3 separate regions of the Homo sapiens genome follow, and regions 1 and 3 are each linked to region 2. The links are contacts of gene promoters, found by promoter capture Hi-C in blood cells and fetal thymus (Javierre and others, 2016). All regions are on one chromosome and are shown on one strand. Each heading gives the region's core, a stretch centred on a gene start or on the middle of the fragment in contact. The rest is flanking DNA. Distances are from core to core; before and after follow the strand shown. Region 1 overlaps CNOT6L (CCR4-NOT transcription complex subunit 6 like). Region 2 holds the start of HNRNPDL (heterogeneous nuclear ribonucleoprotein D like). Region 3 holds the start of MRPL1 (mitochondrial ribosomal protein L1).

What was found. Contacts are between HindIII fragments. The CHiCAGO score rates a contact against its expected background, and 5 or more counts as called.
Region 1: a fragment that was not itself captured here is called in contact with the fragment with the promoter of HNRNPDL in region 2 in 1 of 17 cell types (activated CD4 T cells); the score reaches 6.9 in activated CD4 T cells.
Region 3: a fragment that was not itself captured here is called in contact with the fragment with the promoter of HNRNPDL in region 2 in 2 of 17 cell types (fetal thymus and naive CD8 T cells); the score reaches 8.2 in fetal thymus.

Annotation. Positions count from the first base shown.
Region 1 is chr4:77,811,208-77,813,907 of GRCh38, forward strand. All of the region lies in intron 1 of CNOT6L (CCR4-NOT transcription complex subunit 6 like), which reads right to left. Among named protein-coding and RNA genes, the nearest start is that of CNOT6L, 6.8 kb to the right of the region's middle. The HindIII fragment of the contact is 6,201 bases long and covers 1-2,700 here.
Region 2 is chr4:82,429,043-82,431,742 of GRCh38, forward strand. It overlaps HNRNPDL (heterogeneous nuclear ribonucleoprotein D like), which reads right to left and starts at 1,420. Exons shown (of 8, transcript NM_031372.4): 1 at 206-1,420. The coding sequence starts at 648. ENOPH1 (enolase-phosphatase 1) reads left to right here and starts at 1,548. Exons shown (of 6, transcript NM_021204.5): 1 at 1,548-1,871. The coding sequence starts at 1,788. RefSeq lists silencers at 1-38, 349-588, 959-1,358, 1,479-1,798 and enhancers at 84-879, 259-318, 639-728, 880-1,675, 2,039-2,138. The HindIII fragment of the contact is 3,206 bases long and covers 1-2,280 here.
Region 3 is chr4:77,860,634-77,863,333 of GRCh38, forward strand. MRPL1 (mitochondrial ribosomal protein L1) reads left to right here and starts at 2,197. Exons shown (of 9, transcript NM_020236.4): 1 at 2,197-2,246. The coding sequence starts at 2,216. RefSeq lists a silencer at 185-400 and enhancers at 1,885-2,284, 2,645-2,700. The HindIII fragment of the contact is 4,015 bases long and covers 1-2,700 here.

The sequences.
Region 1 (2,700 bases), core at 54-2,553, 4.6 Mb before region 2:
ATTAAGTGCTCTCCAAATGTGCATGTGGACTGATGGGAAGATGATTAAAGATCAAGAAAGGGTCGGGCGCGGTGGCTCACACCTGTAATCCCAGCACTTTGGGCAGCTGAGGCGGGCAGATCACAAGGTCAGGAGTTCGAGACCAGCCTGGCCAACATAGTGATCTCTACTAAAAGTACAAAATCCCGTCTCTACTAAAAGTACAAAAATTAGCCTGTAGTCCCAGCTTCTCAAGAGGCTGAGGCAGGAGAATCACTTGAACCTGGGAGGCGGAGGTTGCAGTGAGCTGAGATCAGGCCACTGCACTCCAGACTGGGCGATAGAGCAAGACTCCGTCTCAAAACAAAAACAAGAAAGGAATGGGGAAGAAAGGGAGAGGGAAAAAGAGGAAAATCTAGCCCCTCTTCCTCCAGCAAGATAAGCATTATTATCTGCCCCTTATTACCTGACATAGCATCTTTATTTTTCTAATCCACATTTCACAATTCTCTCAAAACTCAATCCTAACACTCTCTCACAAACACACACACTCACACAAACAAACACTCAACAATCTAGGAAATGAACTTCCTCAACCTGATAAAGGCTATTAATGAAAAACTTATAGCTCACTACTTTCCGCACACTGCCTGCCTATGGGCTAGCCTTTCTCCGCAAGGAGCAGTTTAAAAAAAAAAAAAAAAAAAATCACAGCTAACATCTACTTAATGGCAGAAGATGGAATGTTTTCCCCCTAAGACTGGGAACAAGACAAGGATTGCTGCAACTCAAGTGACTTCTCTTGACATTTCTTTTCAGTAATGTTCTGGAGGTTCTATCCAGGGCAATTAAGCAAGAAAAGGAACTAAAATGCATCCATATTGGAAAAGCAGAATTGAAACTTCATTTGTTTGCAGGTGACATGATATTTGTATGTAGAAAATCTTATGGAATCCACTTAAAAACTATTAGAACTGGCCGGGTGCAGTGACTCACACCTGTAATCCCTGCACTTTGGGAGGCTGAGGCAGGTGGATCACGAGGTCGGCAAGACCAGCCTGGCCAACACAGTGAAACCCCATCTCTACTAAAAATACAGAAATTAGCCAGGCATGGTGGCAGGCACCTGTAATCCCAGCTGCTCAGGAAGCTGAGGCTGGAGAATCACTTGAACCCAGGAGGCAGAGGTTGTAGTGAGCCAAGACAGTGCCATTGCACTCCAGCCTGGGCGACAGAGTGAGACTCCATCTCAAAAAAAAAAGAAAAAAAAAACTATTAGAACTAAGAAATTCAGCAAGGTTGGAGGATACGAGATCAACAAACATAAATCAAGTGTATTTTTATGCACTTGTCATGCAAAAACCCCCCAAATTTTTTTTAATTCCATTTACAATATCATCTGGAAGAATAAAATACTTGGGAAGAAATGCAGCAACAGAAGTATGAAACTTATATTCTGAAAACTATGAAACACTGTTGACACTTAAAGACGATCTAAATAAATAGAAAAACATCCCATGTTCATGGACAGGAAGCCCTAATATTCAGATGGCAATGGTCCCAAAATTGATGTACAGATTTAACACAATCCCCATCAAAATTCCAGCTGACTTCTTTGCAGAAACTGACAAGCTGATCCTAAAATTGATATGGAAACACAAGAGATTCAAATAGCCAAAACAATCTTGAAAAAGAAAAAAAGAGTTTTTCATTTTTTCTTCTCAAAAGGAAAAACTTTGAGAGGTTTGAGGACTCAGACCTCTCAATTACAAAGCTACAGTAGTCAAGACCATACTAGTATAAGGATAAACATATAAATCAATGAAATAGAATTAAAAGTCCAGAAATAAATCCTCCACACTTACAGTTAATTAATTTTGGACAGGGGTGATGATACAATTCAATGGAGAAAGAACAGTCTTTTCAATAAATGGTACTGGGGCAACTAAGTACCCACAGGCAAAGAGATATTAGACTTCTACAACAGACCATGTACAGAAATTAATTCAAAATGGATCAAAGATCTAAATGTAAGAGTTAAGGCTATAAAACTCTCAGGACAAAACAGGGAAGTAAATATCTGTGGCCTTAGATTAGATATATTAGATAGATTAGAAATAGATTAGATATAGATTAGAAATAGATATATTAGATAGATTAGCTAGATTAGAAACAAGAAGTCATTATTTCTTAGATACGACACCAAAAGCACAGCAAAAATAATAACAAGAATTTCACTTCATCAAGCTAAAAACGTTTGTGCCTCAAATGACACCATCAGGAAAATGAAAAGACAACTCACAAAATGGAGGAAAATATTTGCAAATCATATATAAGGGACACATCTAGAGTATAAAAAAGACTCTTACAACTCAATAATTAAAAAACTCATTATAAAAATGGGCAAAGAATTTGAGTCTTTTCACACACTTCTCTCCAAAGAGGATATACAAATGTCCAACAGCACATAAAAAGCATCATTAGCCATCAGGGAAATGCAAATCAAAACCAGGATCAAATCACACCTGCTAGAAGAACTATGATGAAAAAAGGAGATAATAACAATTGTTGGCATGAAGTGGATAAATTAGAGCTCTCATACACTGCTGATGGAAATGTAAAATACTGCGACTGCTTTGGAAAGCAGTCTAGAAGTTCCTCAAAAGTTTAAACACAAAGTGGTATATGTTCCAGCAATTCCACTCTTAGGTACACACCCAA
Region 2 (2,700 bases), core at 170-2,669:
CCTCCGCCCTTCCCCCACTCTTCCCGGGTCTCTCCAGTCACCCCCTCGATCTCTTACTTTCCTCTTCCCTCCAATCTAGTGGGGCCCAGAAGGCACGCGGGGAATCGACTCTGAGAAAGAATGGGGGCAGCGCGCGGCTCACGAGGAACGAAGGGCGCGTGCGGCGCGCTGGGGGAGGGGGAGCGGGGGAAGAAGCGTGCGGTACCCGTCATCCTGCTGATTCTTGCTCGCGTTGATCTTGGATCCCTCTGCGAATTCCTCTATATTGCTGTACTCGTTCATATCCTCCATAGTGACGGAGCTGTCGGCAGGGGGGTGCTGGCGCGCAGTCCGGGTCGCGGCAGCAGCGGCGGCGGAGCGTTGTATGGAGCTGGATTTAAAATGGCGGCGGAAGAGATCCGGGCGCCGCCTGCGCCCTCCCTTTATAGCCGCCCCGCCCGCCAATCGGGAGGGCTGCTGGGCGGTGACGTGGCGCTGGGCCCGGCGCGCCCCCTGCCGGGCGGAGCTGGGAGCGAGCGAAGGGAGGAGCGGGGCTAGCTGCCGCGGCGGCCGCGGCCGCCAATGGGAGAGGCTGCGGGAGGCTAAAGTAGCGGGAGCGGAGGGGAACAATGGCGGCGGCACATGGGAAAGCCTGGGCGGGACCTCCATCGCGGCCCTCCCGGCAAGGAGAGAGGCCACGCGTGAGGGGACGCGGGCTTGGGAGAAGAGAAGAATCAGAAGAGAAAAACGAAGGGGCGTAAATTCCTGGGGTCAGCAGTCCCGAGCAGAGCCGACGCAGGGCCACAGTCCCTCTTGCCTTGGGAGCCTTTGTCTCTGGCGTCCGGTCCAGCCCACTCCTACCAAAAAGCCGTCAACCCCGCCTTTTTCTGCCCTCGGTTCGCCAGTGCGGAGCCGCTGCGGCGGCCGCTGCTACCGACTAGCACCGCGGCCAGTCTGCTCCGGAAAAAGGCGGACTGCGCCCGGCGCTGGCGACTGAGGCGGCGAGCGCGCTCGCCCGCCGCGCGCACGCGTGTTTTGTCCTCGAGCTGGCAGGAACCAGCCGAACAGGAAGCGGGCGCGCGACGGCTCCTCCGGGCAGCGCAGCGCGGGCGCCTCTTCCACTGTGACCACGGGCGCGCGGGCCAAGGGGGCGCGGCGGGGCCTCCCGGGCTGATCGGCCGAAGCCCGGGCCCCGCGCGGCCTCTGGCGGGCTGACGCCGGGAGGAGGGGCGGGGGCTGGCCAGATGACTGTATCTATGCAAAGGCGGAGGCGGTGGGCGGGGAGGGGGCTGGATTCAGTAGAGGGCAAGGGGCACTCACATCCCCGGCGCGCCACTCGCGGGGCTCCTTTCTGCACGTGCCCCGGGCCTCTCCCGCTCGCTCAACCTGTCTGCGGAGGGCGCGCTCTCGCGCACCCTGCTCCCGCGTTCGCTTCTTTGTTCCCGCCCACGCGAGGCCCATTTTGACGGATCCAGTTCGAGGCCTGACGGCGGCCAATCGGCGCTGGCGCCTTCACCCTCCCCGCCCCGCCGAACCCGTCAAGGGCCGCCCCTTTTCCTGCCCACGTGGTCTCGGGCTCCTGCCCCGTCCTGCTCACGAGTTCAGGGCTCCTGGGCGGCCGCCTTTTCCAGTTCCAGGTGTGCAGAAGTGTCCTCTCCCCACGCGCGGCGGGCTGCACTTGGTCGCTGGCTCCGAGATCGCGCGGGGCCGCCGGAAGCCCAAGACGGTACCGGGGGCCGCAGCCGCAGCCGGCGCCGCCCTCCGCCCTCCCCAACAGCAGGCCGAGTCCCGTAGCATCCGGTAGGGAAATGGTCGTGCTTTCGGTCCCCGCCGAAGTCACCGTGATCCTGTTAGATATCGAAGGTACCACAACCCCGATTGCTTTCGTGAAGGTGAGGGGCGGAAGGGAGCGGGGATGTTACTTTTCCTTAAAAACAGTTATTATTTTTTCTAAGTATTTCAGGCCTTGCATTGGAGACGAGGGTTAGGAGAGGCGGTGTGGCTGCCTCTTGTGTGGAATGGGGAGGAAGGAGAGAAAGCCTGCGGTGGGTTGCGGGGATGCTTTTCCTCGCGACACTAGCTTCTCCCTCCCCCGCCCTTGCGCTTGGTTGGATCCAGATGGGTGGGAAGGGATGGAAGTTGACGCTAAAAATCACCGAAGGGCAGGTAAGCCGGGGCGGGGTGTGACGGTGCGGGCCTCGCCACCCGGCAGGTGTGCACCCGGTCGCTTCCGCAGGTGAGCGCAGCCTTTCTGCTCCGTCGGGCCTGGTGTGGCAGCGGCAGCGATTTAATGGTCCTTAAAGCTTCCGATCTCAAAATGGAAAGACTGAAGTGTCAAGATGACTTTTCAGGTGGCCCTGGTGTCGGGCAATCAAGGTTCCTCTTCGCCCCTTCCCACTCTTGCTGTTAGTGGCCAAACTGCACAGTGTATTATTTTACTCTGTTAGGCGCTGTGGTCCATAGCGCTGATTTTTTGAGCTATAGGACACGTCTAGATTCCGTTCACTTTCCTCAGAAAACCACAGAAGCTTGAAGCTCTTATCCAGAGCATTCCTTCTAGGATGTCACTGTGAACCAGCACTTGTCTGCACCTCAGCTTGCAACTTAGCGGATTCCTTCTTTATTCTTTGTCTGTTAGAATAAGCAAATATGAAATGTTACTTTAATTTTTGAAAGAATTCCTCGGGCCTTGTCTTTTTATTTGGCTCCCTGAGGTTTAAG
Region 3 (2,700 bases), core at 59-2,558, 4.6 Mb before region 2:
GAGTGGGCAACAGGTAAGCTGTACCTGTACAGGACATTACTTTAATTAGGCTACCACTATAAGCATACTATATGGTATGTAAGCATACTATATGGTAATAGTTTCAATATAGGATGTTTAAACTCTCTTGTTAGAACAGTAGACATAAAAAAGTCCATAAATGGGGCCTGCCGTGTTGGTTCACACCTGTAATCCCAGCACTTTGGGATTGCTTGAAGCCAGGAGTTTGAGACCAGCCTGGGCAAAAAAGAAAGACACCCCACACTCCCCGCTGTCTATAAAGAAAAATAAAAATAAGTTAGCCAGGTGTGGTGGTGTGTGCCTGTAGTCCCAGCCCCTTGGGAGGCTGAGACATGAGGATCACTTGAGCCCAGCAGGTGAAGGCTGCAATGAGCTATGATCTTGTCACTGCACTCCAGCTTGGGTGTCAGAGTGAGATCCTGTCTTGAGAGGGGGAAAAAAAAGTCCACAGATGGGGGCCAACTGACCCCAGCTGTGGACTGTGGAAAGGAAACAGATATAGGGTCTAAGGACCAGCACCTCTAATCTGAGTGTTTGTTTTTCTCTGAAATTGACTGGGTAAACTTGCTCCAATTCTGGTACTTACTCTCAAATTGAATTAGTTTTTTTCATTTATGCATAGCCAAGTACACTGCTTGACACATGGCAGGCACTCATATATTTGTGAAAAGAAGGGAGGATGAGAGGGAGCGAGGGAGAGAAGGAAAAGTTTACAAAGATAGATTTAAGTTCTTCGATTTTTTTGCATAAGTCACAAATTGTTATAGAATCTTTGAAGTAACTGCTTAGGTGTTAACAAGACAAGGCAATACATTAGAAATCTTATTTTTTCATGTAGATGAGTACTATGTATAAATATGAATAAAGCATCTGGGAAATGCCTTTGATCCAGTTCATCTGCCTGTGGGCAGCTTCATTGAAGCAAGTTAATTTTGCAGGCTTGCCATTCTAATTGAGTCACTAATTCATGTATGCATATATTCATTTATTCAGCAAACATTTACTGAGAGCCTCCTATGGGCCTGGCACTGAAGTATGTGCTGAGGTTACAAAAATGAGTAAGATGGTTTCTACCCATAAAAAGCTCAGACTGGTGACAAGAACTGATATATTGTGGTGATGGCTGCACAACTCTTTGAGTACACTAAAAACCATTTAATTGTACAATTTAAATTGGTAGATTGTATGCTATGTAAATTATATCTCAAAACTGTTTAAAAGAAACACAGCCTGAGGCGAAATCTTTAAAAAGTTACCTAGGTGATGTAGGGTACGGTACACACGAAGCAGAGAAGATAGAATGAACCAAGTTATGGAGGTGAGAAACGTGTGTGTGTGTGTGTGTGTGTGTGTGTGTGTGTGTGTGTTGTGGGGGAGGTAAGCTGGGAAGTGATAAAATCCGTAATCAGATTTGTTTTAGATAAACCACACCGACAGCTGTGACGTAATGGAAAGTACACTCATTCTGTTTTGTTTTTGTTTTTTTTTCCTATCAGAATAACTTGTGCGTGGGTCTTGGAGCTGCCATTTTAAAACTAGAAATGTTTTATAAATGTCAAGTATTATTATTCAATTGATCCTAATGGTAAGTCTACTCGCTTGCCAGCAGGGGGTAAATGTAGAGATTAATTTAAGATTTTAAAGCTAAGGTTGATCTTGCGCTGACAGAAAGTTTGACAATTAGCAAAAAAAGTTTGTCAGTGAGTTGGACACCTCCCTCGGGTAGCGGCGAAAACGCCTAGAGAATTTTTAAAATAAGTCTTTCCAAGGCCGGAAAAGTGGCGGAGGAAGCTAGTGGGTTTCAGGGTTCCTGTTTTTCAAGATTTTACGTTGGGTATTAAGTACTCTCACAGCCTGTTAAAATTGTCGCTCTGAGTACACTTGCAGGATCAAAAAAGAAAAAGAATAAGAAGGAAGGATTAAAATAATCACAGCATCGCCAACAGGATCGTATTTTCCCGAAGGTGGTTAACCAGCCATACCGGAACCACGAAACACACAGGGTCCTGGGCAACACGGAGGACTAACAGTAACACCGCCACGCCGGCAGCAAAGCTCATTTTGGTCCCCGCCCCGTTCCTCTTTCTCTTTTTAACTCCTTCCCTCTTTGCGGATTCTAGAACGGAACCTTTTTTTAATTCTTCCCAGTAGAAACGTAGGAACAATTTCGTGAACGCAATCCGGAGTGCCCAACATGGCGGCGGCCGTAAGGTGCATGGGTAGAGGTAAGGCGAGGGGTTGTCTTGCAGGGGAAATGGCTCTGGCACCGAGTCTCTGGTTGCAGCAGAGTGCAAGGCGGATTCTGCTCTGGGTGCTGAAAATGCCTCGTGCTGTTTCTGGTCTCTAGGTTTTTCAGAGGGTGGGTCATTACTACTTAAAAGTGACCTTATGAAGGGTTTCACTCCATTCTGGAGACGTCCACCCTGAGGGAGGGAGTGGGAGCGGGACGTACATCGAGCGCCCTCCAGCCACCTATGGGCATGGCAAGGACTGGGTCGTCTCTGATACTGGGGTGTGGGCTGCGGGTAGTGGAGTGTGATAAGTGAGGTGAGTTCTGATAAGGGAAAGATGATGTATTTGAGTGGCTTAAGTCTGTAAATTAGAGCAATTTTCAAAGTGCTTTTTGGTGCTTTCGGAATTACTTCGTTATAGGCGATTCCAGTTCTTAAACTTCCATAG